Linked DNA regions of Homo sapiens: regions 2 and 3 are each linked to region 1. Evidence: promoter capture Hi-C in 16 types of primary human blood cells and fetal thymus (Javierre and others, 2016). All regions are on one chromosome and are shown on one strand. The core of a region is centred on a gene start or on the middle of the fragment in contact, and the rest is flanking DNA. Distances in the headings are between cores, read along the strand shown.

The links. The method cuts DNA at HindIII sites, captures the fragments that hold promoters and counts their contacts. A CHiCAGO score of 5 or more calls a contact.
Region 2: a contact is called between a fragment that was not itself captured here and the fragment with the promoter of CXCR3 in region 1, in 1 of 17 cell types (naive B cells). The highest score is 5.9, in naive B cells.
Region 3: a contact is called between a fragment that was not itself captured here and the fragment with the promoter of CXCR3 in region 1, in 1 of 17 cell types (naive CD8 T cells). The highest score is 7.3, in naive CD8 T cells.

Annotation. Positions count from the first base shown.
Region 1 is chrX:71,616,702-71,620,984 of GRCh38, forward strand. CXCR3 (C-X-C motif chemokine receptor 3) reads right to left here and starts at 1,810. Exons shown (of 2, transcript NM_001504.2): 1 at 1,737-1,810; 2 at 1-758. The coding sequence starts at 1,748. The HindIII fragment of the contact is 3,713 bases long and covers 1-1,962 here.
Region 2 is chrX:71,057,791-71,062,073 of GRCh38, forward strand. SNX12 (sorting nexin 12) reads right to left here. Exons shown (of 4, transcript NM_013346.4): 3 at 4,053-4,177; 4 at 1,457-3,328. The coding sequence ends at 3,226. Among named protein-coding and RNA genes, the nearest start is that of SNX12, 8.4 kb to the right of the region's middle. The HindIII fragment of the contact is 1,579 bases long and covers 1,173-2,751 here.
Region 3 is chrX:71,098,542-71,102,824 of GRCh38, forward strand. FOXO4 (forkhead box O4) reads left to right here. Exons shown (of 3, transcript NM_005938.4): 2 at 2,143-3,199; 3 at 3,536-4,283. The coding sequence ends at 3,543. Among named protein-coding and RNA genes, the nearest start is that of FOXO4, 4.8 kb to the left of the region's middle. RefSeq lists enhancers at 1-72, 1,881-2,491, 2,778-2,827. The HindIII fragment of the contact is 2,380 bases long and covers 1,176-3,555 here.

The sequences.
Region 1 (4,283 bases), core at 560-3,059:
ACCAGCCGCATGGCCCGCAGGCGCCGCTGGCCCCTGGAAACCAGCAGCACGGCCAGGATGTGGGCATAGCAGTAGGCCATGACCAGCAGGGGCAGCAGAAAGCCAGCCACCAGCTGCAGCACCCGCAGAGCCGTGCGGCCCACCTGTGGGAAGTTGTATTGGCAGTGGGTGGCGTTGAGGCGCTCGTCGTGGTGGGCCGACAGGAAGATGAAGTCTGGGAGGGCGAAAAGCAGGCAGAGCCCCCAGACAGCCAGGCAGGTGAGGGTCACGCGGGCCGGGGGCCCCCGGCGGTAGAGCTGGGTGGCATGAACTATGTTCAGGTAGCGGTCAAAGCTGATGCAGGCCAGCAGGAGGGCTCCTGCGTAGAAGTTGATGTTGAAGAGGGCACCTGCCACTTTGCAGAGGCCAGAGCCAAAGACCCACTGGACGGCAGCGTCCACTGCCCAGAGCGGCAGTGTCAGCACCAGCAGCGTGTCTGCTACAGCTAGGTGGAGCAGGAAGGTGTCGGTGCTGCTCAGGGCTGTCCGCCGGCTCAGCAGCACGGCTGCCACCGCGCCGTTGCCCAGCAGCCCCAGCAGAAAGAGGAGGCTGTAGAGGGCTGGCAGGAAGGCCCGGTCGAAGTTCAGGCTGAAGTCCTGTGGGCAGGGCGGGGAGGTACAGCACGAGTCACTCTCGTTTTCTCCATAGTCATAGGAAGAGCTGAAGTTCTCCAGGAGGGCGGCAACCTCGGCGTCATTTAGCACTTGGTGGTCACTCACCTGTGAGGGCGGGAACGGGGAGGAAGGGGCTGTGTAAAGGCCTGGCAGGAACTCTTTTGTGATTGAGTCTGATTTAGTCTGTGATTTACTCTGAGCAGCTCCTCCTATAACTGTCCCCGCCAGTCTTCCAGGGCCGTACTTCCTCAACTCCATCCGCTCAGCCTGGGCTCTGGGATAGTGACTTCCCTTCTCAAAGGCTGCTTCTCTCGCATTCTTCTGCGTGATCCCATCGGCCCAGGGACCCCTGGGCAGGAAGAAGAGCGTCCCTCCAGTGCCCAGAGCCCTCTCTGCCCACTGTCCTCTCTCTCCCTGCTCTCCCTTCAGGCTTGCCTTGCGTCCTCAGTGCCCCACCCCCAACACATAGTTCAACCACCTTCCTCCCCAGCGCCTCTCCACAATCCCCTTTTCCAGTCACTAACCCTCCTCTTCCCTCCTTGGCCCTTGTCCGGGGACCCCAACTTCCTGCGCCCCCCCCCACCGTGTGGCCTCTCTACAAGTCACCACGCCCCCCAAATGCATGCAGTCTGCCCAGTCCTTCCCCCTCCCTACACTGAGGCTTGCACGGCCATTTAGCTGCCCACAAGGGGATCCCCCACTTAGCTTGAGAAGGAATCTTCTTTATCCCCTCACCCCCAGCACTATGGACCTGCAGGTCTCCCCAGTACCAATTTAGTCCAGCACGCCAAGAGTCAAAGTTCCAAGTCTCCTGAAGGGAGCCTTCGAGTCTACTTGCCCCCCGCCCCCCCCATTTTGCAGACGAGACACCGAAGCCAGAGAGGAGAGGAGAGGCACCCAGGGTCAGTGGCCAAGCTGGGTTCCCAATTCCCCAGTGCTGTTTCTGCCACAACCCATGCGGCCTCCAGCTACTCACCCAACCCTGTGGTGACCCTGGGCTGTGGGCCAGCCCTGGCATTCCCCTGATGCCCCGGGTTTTCCACTTCGAATTCTGGCCTGGCCTGGCTGGGCAGCAGCACTTACCTCAAGGACCATGGCTGGGCTGGTGCTCTGGCTGCTGGGTGGTGTGCTGCCTGCCCCTCTGCTTTGGTGCTTGTGGTTGGAAACCTGCAGTCACAGAGGAAGTGGGAGTTTCAGGCAGTTCTCAGCAGCAGCCTCTTCCAGGGAGTTACCTCTACCAGACCTCCCTAAACCTCAGGCCACAGAGTTTCCGTGACTGGGTGAAACCTCTCTGGAGGAGCTGGCTACAAGCTTGGGACCAGAAAAGCTGGGCAGAGGATGACTGGCTGGGGGCAGGTCCTTTGAGAAGAGAGGTCTGAAGAGGAAGCAATGCAGCTGAGAAGTGAAGGGCAACCCTACTGCCTGCACTGGTAGGGTCAGTGCTCCATAGATTGGAACTCATCTGTCCTGGCCTTGAGTTGATCTTTGCATGATTGTAAAGGCTGGGTAGAGAAATAAGTCTGCAGAGGAGATCCACCTTCTTAAAAATTTCAGCTAGGTGCAGTGGCTCATTCCTGTAATCCCAGCTACTGGGGAGGCTGAGGCAAGAGGATCACTTAAGGCCAAGAGTTTGAGACCAGCCTGGGCAGCATAGCGAGGCTCCATCTCTACCAAAAATAAAAAAAGCCAGCCGGGCATGGTGGCATGTGCCTGTAGTCCTAACTACTTGGAAGCCTGAGACAGGAGGATTGCTTGAGCCCGGGAGTTCAAGTCTGCCTTGAGATATAATTGTACCACTGCACTCCAGCCTGGTGACAGAGTGAGGCCCTGTCTCTTAAAAAGGGAATTAAAATATTTTTTTAAAAAGCCGTTACACTAAATCTAGCTTTTTACCACCACCTCTCCCTGCTAATCAGTGGGGAAAAAGAAAGGGAACTACCAGTAATGAACTTGCTATGTGATAGACATTGCTTTAGGTGCTTTCTCCGACACTGCCTTATTTCAACCACACAACTCACTTGTGACGTGCGGGGTTATCTGCATGGATGATTCAGAAAGGGGACAGGCCTTCGCCAGACACGGCAATTAAAGGTGGGCGTGAGGATTGATCCCACGGCTGTCTGATTCTCCTTTTCCTACTCATGAACACTGTCTTCAGTTTCTTTTAAGTGAATAAGCTATGATATATTCATGCAGTTAAAAACAAATGAACTAAAGCTACACATTTGAACATGGATGCATCTAGAAAAGCCAACGATCACATGGTAGAAGAAGCAAGTTACAGAATGCCATGTATAGTTTGATGCCACTTACATAAACTCTAAAAACCACCACAAAATCAATACCATGTTGTTTTGGATAACACTGTTGGTTCTCGAGGTTTAAAACAGGGACAGGAGATACCACAAATTCATAAAAGCAGTTGCTTCTCGGGCAAGAAGGAGGATGGGGTTGGGGAGGAGGCCATAGGAACTTCTTGATCTTAAGGAAAAGCTGTAAGGCAGCCTTGGTACAGCACATCAGTCACTTTATGGCAGAGAATGGTGAACAATTCCTCTCCCCACCTGCCCTCAGCTCTCCCCTTTGCCCTCTTCTCCCCTCCCTGTCGCCCTCTTCTCATTACCAGTGGGCAAGGCTGCCCGTAATTTGCTTCTCCCAAGCAGTTTCCTCTTTCTCTCTCTCCCCTAGTTGGAAAGCAGGGGTGGAGGGAGAGAGAGAAAGAAGAGAGAAGAGAGAAGAGAGAGAGAGAGAAAAGCAAGTGCTAGCCCATGGTCTTGGGGCCAGTTTTCAGCCAGACTGCCCCACCAAAGCCTCCAGGCTAGGGCCTGGAATTAAATTTACACCCACATGAGGCATACTTGCAAGGCATCAAGGCCCTTCCCCTCCTGTGGACAGATGTGACTCTCCTTGCTCTAAACAGCTTGTCACCTGCAGGGTTCAGGCCAGAGGGAACTGAGGGCCTGGCAGAGGTCAGGAGCAGTGCCAGTGGAGGGAGCAGGAAGGATTCCAGAAACCAGGCCAGTTAGGATGAGCAGGACTTGGCCAGTAGCTACCTATGGGGGTGGAAAAGGGTTGGGAGCTGGGACCACAGTCTCCCAGTGCTGACCTGTGAAGAGGTTTGAGTTCCATGGGCTTCTGCAAATGAGAAAATTGACCATGGAAAGCCACATTTGTTCCATTTAAAGGTCTGTCTTATATTCAGCAATCATGTTATTTGTCCCCTTTTTTTGGTATCAAAAGGGCCTTTTCTTTATGAAATGATGGGGAAAATAGATGGTAGTTTTGGAAACATCTTGTGATGGCAGAAGTTGACAACCCAATGTGGGTCCTCTAAATCAGCAGTCCCCAGCCTTTTTGGCACCAGGGACCGGTTTCGTGGAAGACAATTTTTCCACGGACTGGAGTGGGGATGGTTTCGGGATGAAACTGTTCCACCTCAGATCATCAGGCATTAGATTCTCATAAACAATGCACAACCTAGATCCCTCCCACGTGCAGTTCACAACAGGATTTGTGCTCTGCTGATCTGACAGGAGGCAGAGCTCAGGCAGTAATGCTCCCTCCCCCTGCAGCTTACCTCCTGCTGTCCAGCCTGGTTCCTAACAGGCCACAGACCGGTATACTGGTCCA
Region 2 (4,283 bases), core at 712-3,211, 560 kb before region 1:
CAGCCTCCCAAGTAGCTGGGACTATCATGTGCCACCATACCTGGCCAGATTTTTAATTTTTTTTTTTTTTTTTTTTTGTAGAGATGAGATCTCACTCGGTTGCCCAGGCTAGTCTCCAACTCCTGGGCTCAAGCAATCCTCCCAAAGTGCTGGGATTACAGGCATAAGCCACCACGCCCAGCTAAACATCTCTTCAACTGAACTCTTAAGGTCTACGAAAAAAGAGAATGTAATATCATATTTTACTTGTACCACAACCACTCCACCCTATCCCCAGCCCTGCTGTTAGCATAGGACCAGACACACAGAAGACTATTAGCACTTGTTAAATGAGTTGTCATCTGTCCAAATTTTTGTTAACACTTTATTTTATAGCTGCTTTTCTATTTATTCTGCAGTTCATTCTCTAACACTGCTGCCTATGAAGGTTGCATCTCTCTTTACCCTTCCTTTCCTTTATTTCACAGAAATACCCATTCTTCCCTATCCCCTCAGATATTTTTAGTCATCTCATTCATGAACTACCAAAAACCTCAACTTCCTCACAGCCCCCACTCTTCTACTTAGAACCAAATACTGCTAAGTAACATTAATTTCCTTTTTTTTTTTCTTTTGAAATTTTTTGTAGAGACAGTGTCTCACTCTGTTGCCCAGGCTAGTCTCAACCTCCTGGGCTCAAGCAATCCTCCTGCCTCAGCCTCCCAAAATGCTGGGATTACAGGCATGAGCCAACCACATTCAGCCTTAATTTGCTAATGTTTTGAACACATCACTTTCTGTACCTTCTTTCCATGTTGAGCTACATCAAAACTAGCTTTGATTTTCTAAATGACAAGACTGCTACCTCCCCTCATTCCAACCCTTGCCAAAACCCACTCTGTGTAGGGAAACCATTTCAGAGCTCACTGGTCAGATGAATATCCACCCACCAAAAGTTCTGAGAGTTCACCCACCTTTCTGCCTGTGTCAAATTTATTTGGGAAAAAAAACAGTGTCAGTTGAGATAAAAAGCCTATAGAAGAAATGTTTGTTGGTGTTGTGTGGGTGTGTCAGAGGATGAACACATGCATGTGTGTTTATGTACATGTATTACATATGCAGACACACACATACACACATACACACACACATATATAATAAATATATTCTGCCCAAATTAGCACAAACCCACAAGCTTAAAAACCAAATCTGCTAAATCTGACTCAAACAACAGGTACTGAGCCTACAGCTACTTCCTGCAAGCAGATGCATTACCTCTGTGACAAAGTCAGTTGTGAGTTGCAAAAAGGATAGGTAAATATCATTAAGATAAGTTAAGATTCTGCTTTCTAAAAAAATTTAAATGCAAAACATTACCTCAGGACACTGGCCACACTGTATGATTTCTGCATAATACCCAGCATATCCTAGACACTAAAGAATACTAAATTTACAACTTAAGCAGGAAAACAGAGGCTTGCTTCACAGTGGTTTAATATGAACAGAGTTGAATATGACATTGTCTGACAGAAGAATGAACAGTTTGCTGAATAAAAGCCCCGAGTCAGGATATATATACACAGCAGAAATGGGGCCTCAGACTCTCAGCACTTGTGCACAATGAAAGAGGAAATCGTTTTTAAAAAATGTCTATAACAGAGGATACAAATCAAAAAGGCAGCAACAACAACATTGGCGAGGTGGGAAAGGGAGCAGAGCCTCTCATTAGGGGCTGCTTAGCCCCTGGCGCAGGCTCAGCAGCTGGAGAGCTGTCTCAGGGAACTTCAACATTTAGATGGGTTCCAAATCCTATGTCAAAATACAATCCTAATCTCTCTGATCAGGGTCAGTCAGAATCAGCAATCCTTTTCCACAGTGCCCTGCATAGAAAACTCCAATCTTTCCATGATAGGGAGTCTAAGCAAAGAGCCCCCACCTCTCACCTGGCACCAAAGTTAACTTACTCTCACCCCACCACTTGGGACAGACGTTGGGCCCCAGCAAACAAACCACCCCCTCCAAGACAGAAACCAGGATAGTTGCCAGCCTCAAGAAGCTGCTTCAAATGTTAAGATTTAGGAAATCCATACCAAGCTGCTATCCATAGTTCAACTTCTGGGGAAAATGCTGGAGTTGCATGAGAAACAAGTGCAGGCAGTTCAATAACCCTGTGACCACGCTGGGGAGGGCAGCAAAAACTCTTGCCCCTGAGCCCCATTCAACAACTCAAAGTGCTTAGGAGAAGTCAGAGACTGTGTGGTTGGTTTGTGTGCTTCTGCCCTGTGGCAGCACTAAATGGGATGGGGGAAAGGAGAATGGAAGGAAGACAGTGTTGATGCCCTTCCCTACCGCGGGTAAGAGCCTAGAAGATAATCCACTCCCACCCTTCAGGGAGTTACCTGGCAGTGGTGAGTTGCCCCCACCCCTCAAGCCACCAAACCTGCAAAGCTAACCCATAAAGTAGCAAGGGCTTAGGGAGGGAGAACTGCTGGCCCATACTGACTCACCAGCTGATGAGCAAAAATAGGCAGCTAGAGTGGGAGCCACAAAGGGAGAGGGGCTAGGCAATAGGAGCTCCCCTACTGCCCTATGGCTTTCTTCTGACTCTGAAGCAGCCATAATGATGGGCCCAGAAAACCCACACACCCTGCTCCATACAACAGACTGCTTGGACTCTAGGAGGATTACTGCCATGGAAAGCAACAAGGGAGAGAGAAAGCAACAAAAGAAACTGTTAAGAAAACTGGGAGCAGGCCTGAAGAAAACAAGGAAAGCTTCTGAGTCTCTACCACCTTTCCAAAAAGGAAAAAATACATGCAGTTAGGAAAGGCAGGGTTTTTCCCTGCTCAGTGTTCTTGGTTAAACCTAAGAGTAAGAAAAATCCCCTGAACTTGCAGCATCAGTATGTATCCAAGTGCCTCACCAGCACAAGCGCCCCCCTCCCCCCAGGTTAGCCTTCTGGCATGGGTAAATGCCCAAGAAATTGCCTTCCAGTCTAATCCCCCCACCCACCCACCCCAACCCCAAGCAAAGGGCATCTGCCTGTGGGTTCCCACCTCTCCTCAGAGAAGAGGATCCTAGCAGAGTGCCCACATGGTGTAGTCAGGTACCAGGGAGCACAATGCCAGACAGTCTATCAGGCCAGGAGATGGGCAGCCAACTTCAGATCAAAGACAGAGAGAGGCTTAGTGTAAAAACCAATGTCATTTCAGCAGGAAAGTAGAGGGCAGGTGGTGAGAGGGGCTCCTACTGGCGCACCTTCCCCGGGACGTAGTTCCTGTCAATTGCCTCCTCTTGCAGGAACATGTGTAGGCAGCGTTCATTCTGAGCCAGTGGGTGCCCAGCAATTCTATAAAGAAACCAGGATGGTTATCAGTAGTATTCAGAATCAGAGAGAATTAGCAGAGGGATGGGGATGTGGACAGGGGAAGAAGGGCAAGGTCAGCCCTGAGGTTCAAGCCAGTAGAGGACAGCAGTAGGGTACCACCTCAACCCTAATATTGTAAAGGGGACGGGGGATAGAGGGGCAAGACAGGGAAATCCCTAGATATAACCAACATGCAGTGCTTTCTCAGGCCCTGACACACAGGATCAGAATCCTACTCAAAGGAATGGAGTTTTACTGTCCAGTCAGCCCACCACACAATTGGCACCACATCATGGTACCCATTATAAAAGGTGAGCTGGGTGCGGTGGCTCACGCCTGTAATCCCAACACTTTGGGAGGCCAAGGCAGGTGGATCACTTAAGGTCAGGAGTTCGAGACCAGTCTGGCCAACATGGTGAAACCCCATCGCTACTAAAAACATGAAAATTAGCTGGGCATGGTGGCCGGCGCCTGTAATCCCTGTTACTCAGGAGGCTGAGGCAGGAGAATCACTTGAACCCAGGAGACGGAGGTTGCAGTGAGCCGAGATCACACCATTGCACTCCAGCCTAGGTGACAGAGTGAGACTCTGTCTCAAATAAATAAATAAGTAAATAAAAATAAAATAAAAGGTGAGGTAAACAAAACATATAGAAAGACTACGATGGCAAAAGTAGCAAGTGGAGCCCCCAGGAACTTGGCTTACTTGTTAATAAACTGCTCGAGGCCCTGCCTCCTTTCTTCGATGAAAGACTCCTCAAAGATCCCTTCATCTCCTCGGAAAGGGAGCTGCCGCTTCAAGGCTTTCCCAGGCAGTGGTGGTACTACAATCTGCAGGCACACACAAAATTCCAGCCACATGGGAGAGAGACAGAGTGGGAATGAGATGGTAAAGCACCGTGTACCTCATTTCTTATTAGGCATAGGGTCCATCCTG
Region 3 (4,283 bases), core at 1,116-3,615, 520 kb before region 1:
TAGATTAGGTGGCTTAGGGAGCAATTAGCAGTCACCCCCACCACCCTGCCCTCCAACATGTAAGAGTTATGGGCTTTTGGGAAACTGACCTCTCCAATTAAGAGTCTGTGTACCACTTGCTAGTTCCAAGGCCTAAAGAAGAGGAGACAAACGGGCCTTGTGGCTATTAAGTAGTAGGGAAAGGAATGGATCTTCTCAAGTAGATCCAGAATTAGAGGATAAAAAGAGGAGAAATCATAGTGCCAGGTCATGGTCATTGTGGTCCTTAGTTACTATGAGGTGAGGCCGGATGGACAAGTGCCACTCCTTGAAGGAACATCAGCACAGTTGAAATGCCATTACCTCAGGGTCCCAGGAACACAAGGAGTTCTTTGGCTAAAGAACCCTGGAACAAGAAGCATCATTCCCCAGGCAAAGGTGCTCCTTATCTTAAGAGCACCAGTCAGAGAAACAAGTAGTTTCTGACCGTCCCATGTACTCAGCCTCCTAGTTGCTCTAAGCACTTCTGGGCTCCTCCTGAATTTCTAAACTAAAGACCTCCAAGTGGGAGGTCAAATGCCCCCAAGGTTGAAGAGTTTATGCACAAATTCCTGAGAAATGGGGGAAAGGCACTGGGAAGGAGGTAGGGAAAAGAAGGCAGGTTTCGGGAAGGGGGGTGGCCAGGGGAGGGCCAAACCCCTTGTGTAACTAGCCTGCCCCGCGGCAATCAGTAAATATAAGCTGCACTGGGGGCTGAAGAAGCTGCCAATCTCAGCTCCCTGGGCCACTGGAAAGCATCGTTTCCCTAGTAGAATGTCACCAGTGAGGGAGGAAGGGAAAACATACAGCTTCCAATACCCAAGGCACTGAAGAGCTGGCAGAGCCTCAAGGGGAGCCTCACCATTGTCAACCCAGGGGCAACCCACCAATCAGGTACAAATATTGATTATGTACTGTGAGCTTGAGTAGGTATAGAATATGTGCTGTGAGCTTGGTGCTCTGGGAGGGCTTTGATGGGGGATGTGGGACTGGAGGACATTACACTTGGCACTTACACTCGATGAGACGAATTACATGAAACCATAAGCCACACAATATAAATTGGGTGAAATTGTGTGGCGCAGATTTTAAAAATACTATACTAGAAATTTGGCTGCCAAAGTCAAGCAGCCGCTTTATAAAAGAGGTGGAACTGAAGCTTGGTCTTGACGGAACTAGTAAAACTTAGAGAGGGGAGATCCCTCCTCGGAAAAGAGGGGAGGGGAAGATTGCACCTCACGCATTTGAGGCACAGCAGGAAGCCTGAACCTGAACTGAATGTAGTTGAGGATGTGTGTTGTGGATTGGAAGAAATAAGGCTGGGATTCAGGGAGGGGGGAAAAAGGAATCTTTAAATTCTATAGAGAGCTGGGTGGCCCAAATGCTCTGTGGGGAATGGAGCACCTGCTGTGCTGAGATTCCAGCCCTTCAGCCTATTCAGAGAACTGGCTCTGGGCAGGGCGGGTCCATCCTGGGCTGGTGCTGTACCACTGTCCCGTAAACTCTACCCAAACCTGCACTCAAGGAAAGGGGTGCAATGCTCTTTCCCACCTGAACCTAGTTCTTGCTGGGCAAGGAGCACGTCTCCCCAGTGCCCACCAGCCCCAGGTACCGCTCCCCCCACCCCCCGCAAAACACACACGAAGCCCTGGGAAGAGCAGAGTACCAGGAGCTTTTCCAGGGTGGGCATCCCCCGTGCTCTCTGCAGTGGATTATTACACGTTATCTCCCACCCGCTGTACAGAGAAGTCTGGAGCAGAGGCTGAGCAGCTTGTCTGGGAGCGGGAAATGTGTGTGGTCTCCCCTCACACCCCACCCCCACCCCTACTTCTACCAGTTTTCCCCCCTGGATTCAACTTTCTTTGAGTCTCCAGGAATACCCCTGCTGTGTTCCAGCACCCTTTTATCTTTTATCTTTTTCTCTTTTTTTGTAAATTATTTAAAGTTTTTCTTAAACTTTAATGACCTGGGAAATGAAGCCCCGAAATGAACCCTGCTGCGGTGGTGGCACCAAATCCTAAACCCTAGATCATCAGGGTCCAGCATCCTCTTAGACTTGACCGCTGGCCACTGACCTCCCCTACAGTACCTCACGCCCCTTTCCTGCCATCTCTGCCCCTCCAGAACTCGATCCGCCACAACCTGTCCCTGCACAGCAAGTTCATCAAGGTTCACAACGAGGCCACCGGCAAAAGCTCTTGGTGGATGCTGAACCCTGAGGGAGGCAAGAGCGGCAAAGCCCCCCGCCGCCGGGCCGCCTCCATGGATAGCAGCAGCAAGCTGCTCCGGGGCCGCAGTAAAGCCCCCAAGAAGAAACCATCTGTGCTGCCAGCTCCACCCGAAGGTGCCACTCCAACGAGCCCTGTCGGCCACTTTGCCAAGTGGTCAGGCAGCCCTTGCTCTCGAAACCGTGAAGAAGCCGATATGTGGACCACCTTCCGTCCACGAAGCAGTTCAAATGCCAGCAGTGTCAGCACCCGGCTGTCCCCCTTGAGGCCAGAGTCTGAGGTGCTGGCGGAGGAAATACCAGCTTCAGTCAGCAGTTATGCAGGGGGTGTCCCTCCCACCCTCAATGAAGGTCTAGAGCTGTTAGATGGGCTCAATCTCACCTCTTCCCATTCCCTGCTATCTCGGAGTGGTCTCTCTGGCTTCTCTTTGCAGCATCCTGGGGTTACCGGCCCCTTACACACCTACAGCAGCTCCCTTTTCAGCCCAGCAGAGGGGCCCCTGTCAGCAGGAGAAGGGTGCTTCTCCAGCTCCCAGGCTCTGGAGGCCCTGCTCACCTCTGATACGCCACCACCCCCTGCTGACGTCCTCATGACCCAGGTAGATCCCATTCTGTCCCAGGCTCCGACTCTTCTGTTGCTGGGGGGGCTTCCTTCCTCCAGTAAGCTGGCCACGGGCGTCGGCCTGTGTCCCAAGCCCCTAGAGGCTCCAGGCCCCAGCAGTCTGGTTCCCACCCTTTCTATGATAGCACCACCTCCAGTCATGGCAAGTGCCCCCATCCCCAAGGCTCTGGGGACTCCTGTGCTCACACCCCCTACTGAAGCTGCAAGCCAAGACAGAATGCCTCAGGATCTAGATCTTGATATGTATATGGAGAACCTGGAGTGTGACATGGATAACATCATCAGTGACCTCATGGATGAGGGCGAGGGACTGGACTTCAACTTTGAGCCAGGTACAGTACCCCCTAATCACCACAGCACCTCATAGCCTATTACCACTCCTAGGTGCCCAGCTAGTCCCATGATCTGGGCGAAGGGGAGATTTAGGACAAGTGGTAGCCAGAGCTCCTGGGGAACTGGAGGGAAGATGTCATATTACAGTAGCATAGTTTCCGGATGGGACCTCCAGGCCCCTTAGCTGTGCCCAGCCCTGCAAGGTAGCACAGAAAAGGTATGTGTATGGAAGCGGGTTAGGTGCCACCATCTTCTTTGGTGGGAATCTGGATGATAGAATGTTGGCAAGCCCCAGGTAAGCCTCTTACCTTGTTCTCTGTTTCTTCTTCCCACAGATCCCTGAGTCATGCCTGGAAGCTTTGTCCCCTGCTTCAGATGTGGAGCCAGGCGTGTTCATATCTACTCTTTACCCTTGAGCCCTCCCCAGGAATTTGGGACCCTGCTTTAGAGCTAGGGTGGGGTCTGGTCACACACAGGTGTTGAAGAAATTATAAAGATAAAGCTGCCCCATCTGGGGACGATATGGGGAGGGAGATGGGAGGGGAAAGGGGAGAGGGTTTTTCTCACTGTGCCAATTAGGGGGTAAGGCCCCCTCTCAGGAGCCATCATCGGCTTTCCCCATTCCTACCCACTTAGGCTTTGTAGCAAGATGAGCAATGCTGTTGGAAATGTGAAGTCACCAGTGGCCTTACCCCTGCCTTTGGGAGCAGGATTTTTTTGTAGAGAGTCTTATCTGAGCTGAGCCAGGCTAGCTGGAGCCTGGGATTTCTATGCAGTGGCCCCTTAGGCCAGTGATGTGCGGTGGGTGGGCTGTTTAGGGGATCTGGAAGGGCCAAGGTCTGAGCACTGGAGTGGCTCGCCAGGCCAAATCACCCTTAGAAGGCTGCAGATAACAGAAAGGCTTTTTATAAACTTTTAAAGAAATATAAACACAAATATAGAGATTTTTTAACCATGGCAGGGTGCTAGTGGTGGGCAGAATGCTTTTTTTTCTTTCTGAAGGCTTTGTGATAGTGACATGATACAAACACTACAGACAATAAATATTAGGAGACACAGGGAAGTGGGGAGAGGTGGGGAGTA